Linked DNA regions of Homo sapiens: region 2 is linked to region 1. The links are contacts of gene promoters, found by promoter capture Hi-C in blood cells and fetal thymus (Javierre and others, 2016). All regions are on one chromosome and are shown on one strand. The core of a region is centred on a gene start or on the middle of the fragment in contact, and the rest is flanking DNA. Distances in the headings are between cores, read along the strand shown.

Region 1 (6,122 bases), core at 1,682-4,181:
ACTAAAAATACAAAAAAATTAGCCGGTCGTGGTGGCTAGCACCTGTAGTCCCAGTTACTCGGGAGGCTGAGGCAGGAGAATGGCGTGAACCCGGGAGGCGGAGCTTGCAGTGAGCAGAGATCGAGCCACTGCACTCCAGCCTGGGCGACAGAGCGAGACTCCATCTCAAAAAAAAAAAAAACAAAAAAAAGTGACGATGGGCAGTATTTATATGTGTTTTAACGTTTCCAGCAATTCATTCTAGCAATTGGCTTTCTCATGCAATTGATAAAAGCATTTAAACGGAAACTTTAAAAGCTCTAAAAATGTTACCAGTTTATCATTCCTATCCATTTTACCTTTTTCTAAGTATAATGTTTAAGGCAGCTTAAAAGGTCCAAGAGAGCTGATATGGTATATTGAAAAAAAACAGAGCACCAAACTAGGACTCCGTATTTGTCTCCACTGCTAGATTATTAGCTTTTTGTAGGCAGAAACTTAAGTTGTCTTTTTCTGTTTTGTTTTTGTTGTTGTTGTTGTTGTTGTTTTTGAGACAGAGTCTCCCTCTGTCGCCCAGGCTGGAATGCAGCGGCGGGATCTCAGCTCACTGCAACCTCCGCCTCCCAGGTTCAAGCAATTCTCCTACCTCAGCCTCCCGAGTAGCTGGGACAACAGGCAAGTGCCACCACGCCCCCCTAACTTTTGTATTTTTAGTAGAGACAGGATTTTGCCATGTTGGCCAGACTGGTCTCGAACTCCTGACCTCAAGTGATCTGCGCACCTCGGCCTTCCAAAGTGTTAGGATTACAGGTGTGAGCCACCGCGCCGGATCTAGTTGTCTTTTTAATCTGTCAATTGTCCTCAGCATCTAGAACGCTTCATGACACCAAATTGTATATGTTTACTGAACTGAGCGACTGGTTTCCACACACGGCATTTTGTTTTTGTTGTTGCTGTTGTTTTTTGTGTGTGTGTGTGAGAGACAGGGTGTGGCTCTGCTGCCCAGTCTGGAGTGTAGTGGTGCTATCTCAGCTCACTGTAGCCTCAACCTCCTGGGCTCAAGCGATTCTCCCACCTCAGCCTCCACAGTAGTTGAGACCATAGGCACATGCCACCACACCCAGTTAAATTTTGAATTTTTTGTAGAGACAGGGTTTCACCATGTTGCCCAGGCTGGTCTGAAACTCTTGAGCTCAAGAAATCCGCCTGCCTCGGCCTCCCAAAGTGCAGGGATTACGGGCGTGAGCCACCGCGCCTGGAACTAACACCTCTATCATATAGAGAAAACTAACTTTTTTTTCTTTGGAAGCCATAAATTCACTATTAGATATCTAGGAAGAGAATACATTCAGGTAGTTAACATCTTTCCATAAATATATATTTCCCTACCTTATATCTGGTATCTTTCCATAATCCAAAAAGAAAACAAAAAAACCTATCTTAGTGAGCAAAACGTTTTTAAAAGTTAGTACTTTGAGTTACATTTTTATACCTAGGAAGTTAATTAACATGTTTAAGACACATAAAACCTAATAATTTTTAGGTTTGACAAAAGTCATACCCTCACAAGGATCCACAAATCCCTTGTCTCCAATTCTGAAACTTCAAAAGCTCTGGAAACCAAGTTTCTGTTTTTTTTTTTTTTTAGTAATTTATTTGACAGTCAAATAGATCTATCTTAAACTTATTTGGCAGAAGCGTCTGACTCAAACTGAATGAGGCTATTTACTTGTATTTATTTATCCCGTATGAACAATCATATATCTTGCTGCAAAAATATTAATATATTTGATTACGCAGTGTTTTCCCTAAACTCCCTGGGGTATTATAGAATATACAGTATATGACATTTGGTTTTTACCCAAGTCCACTAGACCACAGCAGACCTTGCCCTGATTGCTTGACAAAGTCTAGAGCCCCTTTCCAGTTTCTCTGAGACCATACCCCTGGCTCCAATCCAGCCTTTTCTTGAATACTAATTGAGGCTGCACGAACAGCTCAAAATGCCTATCATGATGTCAGTTGGAGAAATAAATATGCTGTGTGATCATACTGAAAGTCAATGTTATCACCTTGATGGTCAATGACCCGTGGTTTAAGAAGGAACATCTCGGTTTTTTAAAAAGTACCTTTCTATTTTTATCACCGGACGCTGGGCAGTTGAGGATCAGAATTAAGCCATTAGCTCGTAGGCTTGCAATGATATCTGCTCAATAAATATTTACCATTTAGCTGACGCACATCTTGGGCAGTATGTAAGAACTTCTCTCACACTGTGTTGGCAGCGACAGACATGTGCGGAGAAAAAGTAACCGGAGGCCTAATACTGGCTCAGCTCCAGCAATAAATCCATCATTACACCATGGAACTGGCACACTCCCCGTGTATATCTCAAGGACCCCACCCTCTGGCCGGCAGGATCATATCTAGGGATCTCAATTAGAGATCTCGTAGTGAATAAGGGCGAGTTATTCTCGTAACGCCAGAGGTGGTGGACCTGCCGACGCCCTAGGGTGGGACATTCCGGGCTTGGATAGTAAGACATCGTAAATATACGCCAAAATGTCCACACCAACGTTTCCCGAGAGTATTTCTTTACAAGTAAAAGACCGACTCAAAATCACCCCTCTCAAAACGCGTCTCTTTGGAACTGCAGAGTTAGGGAGTAAGACTTTCTGCCTGACCCCACCTACGTCGGCCGCGCGCTCTCAGAGCCAGGGCACCACGCTGCTCCTGCGCAGGTCCTAGACTCCTCCCTTCGGGAGGCTCACCCCCTCCCTTCTCGGCTACTTCCGGCCCTCACCGAACGCCCTCAACGCGCTTGCGCCGTTTTGATAGGCTTCTCGGGCCGAAGTAATCGGAGCGCTGCCTCTCTGGAACCGCCCCCGCCACCTCTTCGCCCCGCCCACGTATTACCGCCCCTCCGAAATCTCGCGAGGGTAGGTGCGCGTCGGTATTTTGCGGGCAACTAGCTCTTCCAGCTGCTGTAAATTGCTGCTGCGGGAGAAACTGGAGCCGCTGTAGCCGGCGCGCCCTTCTTCCCTTACTGCGAGGAGCCACCGCCTCTTTCGCGCTCCTTATACACCTATCACTGGGAGCGGTGGCAGCAACATTCCCTGGACCAACCGCCGCCTCTTCAGGCGGCCGCTTTGCCGGTCATTCCCGAAGCCCGGCAACTGAGGGCGGCCCCCTTTCCTTAACAGTCTCCTCGCTACAGATCGTCTGCTCCCTCAGCCTCGCCCGAGACCCACTTCCCCAGTCTCGCCCGGGTGGAGGTCGACGAGGAGGAGACAAGAGTCACCCTTCCTCCAGGCGGCGCCGGCCCCCTCACCCGCGGGTGTGTCCTATAAATGGCGTCGGAAAGCGACACCGAGGAATTCTATGATGCCCCTGAAGATGTGCACCTAGGGGGCGGCTACCCCGTGGGGTAAGTGACTGCAGCTATGACAGGAAGCCGGGCATCCCAAGCCCCCCGCATCTCCTGTGTCTTCCCCCTACACCCCTCCCAGGTCCCGCTGTGTCCGCCACCGCTGTTCCTCCCCGTCTCACTGGAGGACTTCAGAACCCAGACCTGGGGCTTCTTAGGGCGGGGTGACTCGGAGAAGGGGGAGTCAGCCACCTCGGGCAGCCTCCCGGCCGTTTCCCTACTGAACGGTCCCAGGGTCGGTCTCGGAGCCCGTTTCTCTTCTGATCCAGCCTTCTGTGAGGGGGAACAGCTTACGTGCCTGAGTCGGAGATTTGTATCTGTGGGGTTCTGAGCTTACCTTTCAAACATCCGTTTTGGCCTCGGGGACCGTAGATTAAAGGAGCAGTAACAGGAGAAATGTAACTTGTAGTTTTTTATTCTCCCGTTTACCGCTAACTTACCTATTCACTTCAGAGGTGGCTGTAACTCTCCCCTATTTGCCGTCCTCTTTTTCTTGCACACAGCGAAAAGGAGCGGGGGGAAGGTTGGGTATTTGCTTAAGAAAGTCCTCTAGCGAATGTACTCTAGATCAACAGTGTTTTATTAAAATAACACCTTATCGTGAGGTAAAGGAAATCGAATACACGGTCCCTATTAGGCAGAATGCGGTCTAAAAGGATGGCCAGACAGAAGAAATGTGCACAACTGACTGCAGAGGGACAAACAAGTGCTGAGTAATCTGGTGATTGGAAGGAGAGCCCCAGCTTTGTGTTCTTTATCTAATTCTGCAAGATGTTTTAGTGGTGATTAATATGGGTGATTCTGAATAGGAAGTACAGTAGTTGGAATGCTCGCTTGACTAGGACTTGTATTTACTTACCCACTTCTCCACTTTTCAAAGTTGGGGTAGTGCTTTAAAGCGATTTCGCCGAACTCCCCTACGAATGTACGTGGAAATAGAGGCAGTGAAATATATTTTCATGCTGTAAGAACTTGAGGATTGGTAAAATGTAGATGTTAGTATAAAGGACTAATATGGTTCGAGAAGTTCACTGCCTTCAATTCTCACACTTACTCCGTGGGAGTAATAACCCGCTGTGATGCAAGTATAGTTAGCCATGCATGCTAGAAGTCATTCTAAAAACTAATGTATGTTTATACACAATATGCACCAAAAAGTTACAGTAATAAAATCAGAAAGCAATGTACGTTGGTAGATTTCAGATGTTTGTCTTTCCACCAACCTTCATGTCACTGTTGTGGGATTTTGGGGTGGCAGTGGCCAATCTTGAGATGACACCGAATCTCCTTCAAGTTCAATATCTGAGACAAGTTTAGAGCTAGGTGTAGAGCATAGGAAATACATTTGGGTTTTGAAATGTATTGGACTTCCGTGAAACTTAATTTTTGTGTGTGTGGTTTTCCCTTCAAAGTAATGAACTGACAATTCAGATTGAATGAGACACCAAGTCCTTTGGTACTTTTGTGTGTGTGTATTGGGGTGGGGGAGGGAAATCATCAGTTTATGAGCTGATCAGTTTAGAACTACTCTGTGGATATTGTTCTTTCCACTGAATAAGTTTAATTTCAAAGGACGCAAGTTATATCAGGACCTGTGTAAACTGTCTAGTCCAGTACCTGGGCACAGAGAAAGCATTCAAAATGTTCATGCTTTTCTCCTTCCTTTCTTGGCATTGGCAAATTTGTTAACTTTACACAAAGCTTATTTTGGGAGATATATAGAACTTGGACCTATTTTACTTATCTAAACCGGATGAGTCATTTTGATAGAATTGATAGAGTCACTTCTTCCCTCATGAGATAATACAGCTTCTCAAGCACTTTGATCCTCTGATATTAGGTGAAAACTGAAAAAGGTTTTTTTGGAACTCAGCTTTCTAATTTTAACTTTAACCTGCCCAATTACTAAGTGTGTTGAGTTCTATGGATAAAACTACAGGGTCAGTTTGTGGATTTCAGGGCTCCTTTCTGTATTAGAGGATTGGAAAGACAATAGACTAATCTGGAGAATTGCATCTGAAAAGAACTGGCAGCACTGAGGGCAGAAAAAGGTTAGCATCATTTACATTTTCCTCTATCCTTTGTGGAAGGTTGTATCATTTGCATAAGACACCGTGAGGAGATCTGGGTGGGCAACTTATAACCTAGAAATGTAGTGAGAAATCTTGATTTGTGGAAACAGATTGCCTTACTAGATATTGGTCATCAGAAATATGTTCTGTTCCTTCATATGATCTGGAGTGGCAAACTATACAATTTCTAAGGTTAATAGACTGAATTTGGGCACTTCAGAAATGTTCCTTGCTGTTGTGTGTTTGGGAGTACACAGACTATGTCAACAAATTGTAGTAAACTGAATAGGCAGTGGAGACTTATCTCATGTTTTGTTAATTAGCACAATCCTAATACACAAGCTATTTCCTAAAATTAATTTATTTCTTGCATTTTCCTTCCAATGATGTCTTCGGCTTTGTTAATCTACTCTTTGAAAGCAAATTTAATAAGTTAAAAATCAGCCCAGTTTTTTTAGAGACTTTTAATTCCAGTACAGCCTACTTTTCTACAGTGGCAGATGATCTTCACTTGCCCAGCTTTGCAATATATGCCGTATTTATAATGCTTTTTTATTGATATTTTAGGTCAGGTTTTCTTTATTTTCTTTTTTCTTTTCTTTTTTTTTTTTTCCAAGATAGGGTCTCACTCTGTTGCCCAGGCT
Region 2 (6,406 bases), core at 571-3,070, 2.4 Mb before region 1:
AAGTAATCACACTATTTTCTTGCTAGAATTTGTCCTACACATGCAGATAGCCAAATGCCATCTCACAAGGAATGTAAAACCACATGTTCTGGTGCAATTGCTTTGTTTTCTTTACCGTTAAAATGGTTATAATCCCACTTAAAACACAGTGCAATTCACTATGCGAAATGACCTCTCATGCAATCAAATCTCCATAGAACTTTGGTCAGTTTTTCTAATTTTGGAAATAAGGCCAAACTTTTGCCTTAGTATCAATAACAAGAAACACAAAGCACAACAAGAGCGAACACACAAACACTCTTAACATCTTCATCTAGAAATAACCAGTATAACTGTGACAATTGTGTCTTCTTTCCTTTTGGACTTTTTTTGTCTACATATAATTTGTTGAGCTTATATTTTGTATTATTACCACTATCTTTTGTAATTTTTGATACTTATTTAAGAAGCTTCATTCTTTCTTTTTCTTAATAATCATGGCCGTTTCAGATCCTCCCATTTCACAGAACTGAAAAAAGATGAAAATGTGAGCGAGCCCCTGAAAATCTGGGGGGGGGGGTCTCTTTCCATGTCTTTAAATGCGTACGTAGAAAGGGAGCTGTATTGCTTTTAGGCCAAAATTTCATCCGAGGAAATGTACCCTCTTTAGGGGTACATTCAAGGGAGCCCAGCACTTGTGAGCACGCACGGCGGCCATGAGGTTTAACCACCACTCAGTCCAAACCCACAGAGCACGCGCACCCTCCTCCAGCCACGTAGGTGGGGAGAACTCGAGTGGGTGAAGGAATCCGTGTGCGCACCCTTCTCCTCCTGTTCGCCCCGCCCTTTGGCCACACAGAAACGCTTCCAGGCCAACCGACGAGGAAGGCTAGAGGGACTCTGCTAGGAGGCTCTCCCTACACTTGCCAGAACTGAAAACGTAGGCAGGGGTTAAAAACTCAGTGCTCCAAAAACGCAAGACCCCGACCCGCCCACATGGCCCCGACTCGGCCCTCGGGGACTCCCAGATAACTGCCTGACGCCCGAGCCGGTGGTGCGGCAGCCACCATTGCGCAAGTTCGAGCGCCCGGCTCTGGCTGCTCACATGATGGAGGATGGGGAAGGTCCTCTGCACCAGAAAGGCCGCCTATGGCACAGAACCCCTGCCCTACTTCCCCCAGCGTCAGGGAAAGGAAAGGCAAAGAAAGGAAAGACGAAGGAAGGAGACCTACCTAGCTGAGGCTGCGCGCCAGCGGGAAAGGTCCGACTACCTCTGATCTGCGTTCTGGGGACGGCTGGACCCCAATGCGCCCCCTGCGGCAACGCGACTCCCGCGTTGCCACAGGGTAGGCTGCCATCCCTCCCTCCATCTTCTGTGTCTCCTGTTCCCCAGAGGGGGTGGAAGCTGAAGGTCAGAGGAAGGGGAGGTGTTGGGAATCCGGGTTGTGTGGTGTCGGCTCCGCCCAGGGGAGGAGTGGGACATCTTAAGCCAGTCGTAGGTGCTTAAAGGGCCGGGAGAGGTGGGCTACGGAAAGTCAGGTGGGAAATCTTTCATCTTGGCCAGTTGCTCGGTAGAATCTATTTCTTTCCCTTAGAATAAGGTACTTGTTGCTAGGGGGCAAACGATGATTGAGTCAGAACAATACAATGGAATATCTATAGTTCAATATTCGCAAAACATTTAGACGTAAAAGAAATTTAAATATGCATATTTTCAACCGATAAGTTTGTATCATTACATTGACTGAGGTTACTAAAAGCCTCAATTGCTCCCTCCCCAGGTGAGAGGTAATGAGTAAGAGAAAAGGTCTGGGAGTATCTGGCCAGCAGGTAGTCTTGGGGTAGGGGCATGGGGCTGAGAGTGTGGGGTCAGTTGGTGGGGAGTGAAATGTGTGGTTCCCAAGACCAGACACTGCCGGTGCCCTATCACTCCCTGATTTTTGTCTGGAACTGTTAGGGGCCCAGTGCTGCTTCTGCGGCCATTCCAGGGGATGCTGCTGTTTGGCGCACACGCTGCCTAGGTGGGTGATGAAATGCTACGTCCGAAAGAGTGACAGCGACTCGAAGGTTTCCCCTGTCTGACCAGTGCCCTGATATCTTCTTTCTTTTGAAAAAAAAAAAAAAAGGAACACTTTTGTCTTGCAAAATAATATTCGCAGAATGAAGACACCTGTAGTGCATAAAGAAAAACGAAGATAACCCGTGATGACACCACTCAGAGGACTGTTAAATTGGGGCGTACATCCTTCTAGCACCTGATTTCTTAAGTTGGAGGGAGAGATGCAAATAAAGATCCTTTTAAAATAATAGTCTGGTGAGCTCCCAAGACCCATGGGAAGCATGCACGCTATTCAGTTGCCAACCTATTGATTGCGAAGATATTTTTGTGGACCCATTTAATTTTCTATTCATAATATAGTATTTGATGGACTTTTACTATTATTTTTTGTTTCACAAACCCAATGTTTTAGGACCTGATGGACTTTTACAAAAATTTTTCTGAAGAAAAATTTTAAGGAATGTTTTCCCTACAAATAAGTGTTTCAAGTGAGAACCAAAGTCACCGCTGCCCAGGTCCACTCCCCAGTACACCCACCTTAAAAGAAACACTTTAAAAAGAAATCCAAGGCCTCTACACCAACCTGAGGAGGGTACAACTGCACTTTTACCGCCTCCAACTCCTTAGAATTTTCTGCCTCCATTTCACTCCCCACCAACTGACCTTCACTCTCTCAGTCCCCCATCCCCACCCCACCCCAAGACCACCTGCTGGCCAGATACTCCCAAACCTCTTCTCTTACTCATTCCCTTGCTGTTTGGGCAGAGGTGGGTGGGAATTACCAGGAGGTAGGGGAAAGAGAATAAATGGGCATAGGTAATACTTTGTTCTGGTCAGACAGATGCCTTCACCGGCTTAGGGGAGAGTTGAGGGAGGGGTTAAGACTCTGCCACAATTCCACGTTGTAGAAAATGGAAAGTGGAAAGAGCTTCCCTCTGGTTCCCAGGTGGAATTAGCCGAGAAAGAATTGGGCTATGAATCTCAGCTGCACCTCTCTGGATGCCTCCCTGTTTTTCTCCTCCTTTATTTAATGTAGGAATGGCCATTGCCTGACACAGAATCAAGTCACAGCCTTTTTTCTGTCTGCATTACCTGAACCGACACAGATTCAATAAACACTCATTGTGCCAGGAAACCAAGGTCCACAGAGGCTAAAGCTTTGCCAAGGTGAACCGGAGTGTCACAGGATGAATCCAAACATGCTAGGCTGCAACTCCTTTGCGCTCTTCATGCAAATGGGCAAGCAGCTCCATAAAGGATGCTCAACATCATTCATTTAGGCAAATACAAAGCAAAATCACGAGGAGATACACTTCACACTTACTAGGATGGGTAGAATAAAAACAAAATTGAAAATAACAAGTGTGATGAAGATGTAGAGAAATTGAAACTGTCATACATTGCCGGTGGGAAAGTAAAACGATGTAGATATTATGGAAAGGAGTTTGGCACTTCCACAAAAAGTTAAACGTATAATTACCACGTGGTCCAGGAATTCCACTCCTAAGTATATATCCAAGATAACTGAAAAGATATTTGAACAAAAGTTATGCATGAATATTTGTGGCAGCATAATTCATAAAACCCAAAGGAGAAACAACCTAAATGCCCATGAACTGGTGAGTGTTTAAACAAATATGCTATATCCATACCATGGCTTATTATTTAGCCATAACATGGAATGAAGCACAGATACATGATACCACATGGATTTAACCTGGAAACTATTATAATACATTAAGAAACCAGACAAAAATGCATATTGCATGATTCCATTTATATAAAATGGCCAGAATAGGCAAATCTATACAGAGACATAGTGGATTAGTAGTTGCCAGGGGCTGGGGAAGGCTGAATAAGAAATGACTGCTAATAGAAATGGAGCTTTCATTTTAGAAAAATTTTCTAAAATTTGTTGTAATGGATACACAATTTTGTGAATGTACTAAAAAGCAATGACTTGTATACTTTTAAATGGTGAATTACATGGTATGTGAATTGTATGTCAATAATAAAATGTAAACCAGCACTTAGATTTAATAAAATTTAGGTACAAGATTTGTGGGAAATTTTATATCATGGGTGAATCAAGGTGAGAATGCTGTAACTCACTGATATGATATTTTCCATCAAATATATGAGAAACATATTATGTGAATGCTGATATCATGCAATCAGAGTACAAAGCATCAACTATGAATGTTCCTGCCAAAAAAATTGTACCTGAATCTAACCACATCCATAGATATTACTACAAGATATTCTGCTTATAAAGGAATAGGTTTTGCATTAGGATGGATACGGTAAAATGTAAAAAATGAATAATTCTACAGGACAAATAATAAACCAGTCTCTCACCAAAGGAATAGCAAAGAAAAGAGGGAGGGTGGTGGTGTTATAGATTTAAGAAGAAATAGGAGACTGGGCATAGTGGCTCATGCCTGTAATCCCAGCACTTTGGGAGGCCAAGGTGTGCAGATCACCTGAGGTCAGGAGTTCGAGATCAGCCTGGCCAACATGGCAAATCCCCATGTCTACTAAAAATACAAAAATTAGCCAGATGTGGTGGTGGGTGTCTGTAATCCCAGCTACTCGGGAGGCTGAGGCAGGAGAATCACTTGAACCCAGGAGGCAGAGGTTGCAGTGAGCAGAGATGCTGAGATCATGCCATTGCATTCCAGGCTGGGCAACAAGAGCAAAACTCTGTCTCAAAAAATAAAGAAAGAAAGAAAAAGAAAGAGAGAGAGAGAGGAAAGGAAAGGAAAGGAAAAGAGGAAATATTTGAATCAATGTTGTGTAGGAGGAGGCAGAGCAAGATAGCAGAATAGAAGGTTCCACCTATTGTCCCCACCCCTTGCAAGGACACCAATTTAACAACTATCTATACAAGAAAAACACTGTCGTAAGAACCAAAAATTAGGTGAGTACTCATAGGACCTGGTTTTAACTTTATATCACTGAAAGAGGCCCTGAAGAGGCAGGAAAAAAAACAGTCTTGAATTGTCACATCACCCCTCCCCCAACCCCTGGCAGTAAGTGTTTCTGTGTGCTGGTGGAGGGAGAGTGCAGCAATTGTGAGTCATTGAACTCAGTGCTGTCCTGTTAGAAAGGAAAAACAGACCAAACACAGCTGATGCTCCCCACCACCCCAACAGAGGGAGTATTTATATTAGCCCTTGCCAGAGGGGAATCTCCAATGCAGGCTAAAATGCCCTGGGGCCCTTGAAAGGCAGTTTAGGCCAAAAGTATTGCAACTTTTATTAGTCCTAGTGCTGAACTCAGACAAGAGACAGTAGTCTAGGGGGACACGTGACCTACTGACACAGCAGCCAGGGAAGTTAAGTGAGTGCTGGCCTCATCCCTCTACTAACCCCAGGCTGCACAGCTCATGGCTCCAACAGAGACCCCTTCCTTACACTTGAGGAGAGGGAAGAGTAGGGAGGACATTGTCTTGCAGCTTGGATAACAGCTCAGCAACAGCAGGATAGGGCACCAGTCAGAGTAATGATGCCCACTTTCCTGGCCCTAGCTCCAGGATGACATTTCCAGACATCTTCTGGGCCAGAAGGGAACCTGCTGCTTTGAAGGTAAGAATCCAGTCCTGGTAGCATTCATCATCTGCTAACTGAAGAGCCACTGGGCACTGAACAACCAGCAGAGATACCTAGGTACTATGTTGAGGGCCTTGGGTGAGGCTCTGAGACTTGCTAGCTTCAGGTACCAGCTTTGCCACTGAAGTATAGAGCACCAAGTGGGCTCTTGGAGTCCCTGATTCCAGAACTTGGTTTTTGGATGGTATTTTTGGATCTGCCCTGGGTCAGAGGGGAGCCCACTGCCCTGAAGGGTGACTCCCAGGCCAGGCAACATTTACCACAAGCTGACTCAAGATCACTTGGTCCTTAAGGGGACATTGGTGGTAGTCTGACAGTACTTCATATAAACCTGTGGTGGCAGTGGCCATGGAGTAAGGCTCTTCTGCCTTTGGAAACGGGTGGAAAGAGTGGGAAGGAACACATCTTGCAGTTTGAGTTCCAGTGCTGCAGCAGCACAACAGAACACCAGGTAGACTTTTAAGGTTTTTGACTCTAGTTCCTGGCTCCCTGCCAGCACTCTGGGCCCTCCTGGGGGCATGGGTAACTCACCACCCTGAAGGAAAAGACATAGGCCTGGCTCGCCTCACCACCTACTGACTGTAAAGCCCCAGGGCCTTGTGTGAACAGAGGCAGCAGCCAGGGAGTGATTACAGCAGGCCTTGGGCAAAACCTAGCATTGTGCTGGCTTCAGGGCTGATCCAGCACAATCATAGTGGTGGCGGTTGCAGGGGTGCTTGTGTCACTCCACCCTCAGCTTCAGGTGGTTCAGAATGGA

The links. The method cuts DNA at HindIII sites, captures the fragments that hold promoters and counts their contacts. A CHiCAGO score of 5 or more calls a contact.
Region 2: a fragment that was not itself captured here is called in contact with the fragment with the promoter of WDR44 in region 1 in 1 of 17 cell types (M2 macrophages); the score reaches 6.4 in M2 macrophages.

Annotation. Positions count from the first base shown.
Region 1 is chrX:118,343,175-118,349,296 of GRCh38, forward strand. It overlaps WDR44 (WD repeat domain 44), which reads left to right and starts at 2,932. Exons shown (of 20, transcript NM_019045.5): 1 at 2,932-3,406. The coding sequence starts at 3,330. RefSeq lists enhancers at 2,163-2,282, 2,473-2,522, 3,064-3,607, 5,103-5,697. The HindIII fragment of the contact is 5,332 bases long and covers 1-5,105 here.
Region 2 is chrX:115,967,750-115,974,155 of GRCh38, forward strand. It overlaps DANT2 (DXZ4 associated non-coding transcript 2, distal), which reads right to left and starts at 1,362. Exons shown (of 2, transcript NR_132337.1): 1 at 1,212-1,362. RefSeq lists an enhancer at 1-28. The HindIII fragment of the contact is 2,746 bases long and covers 448-3,193 here.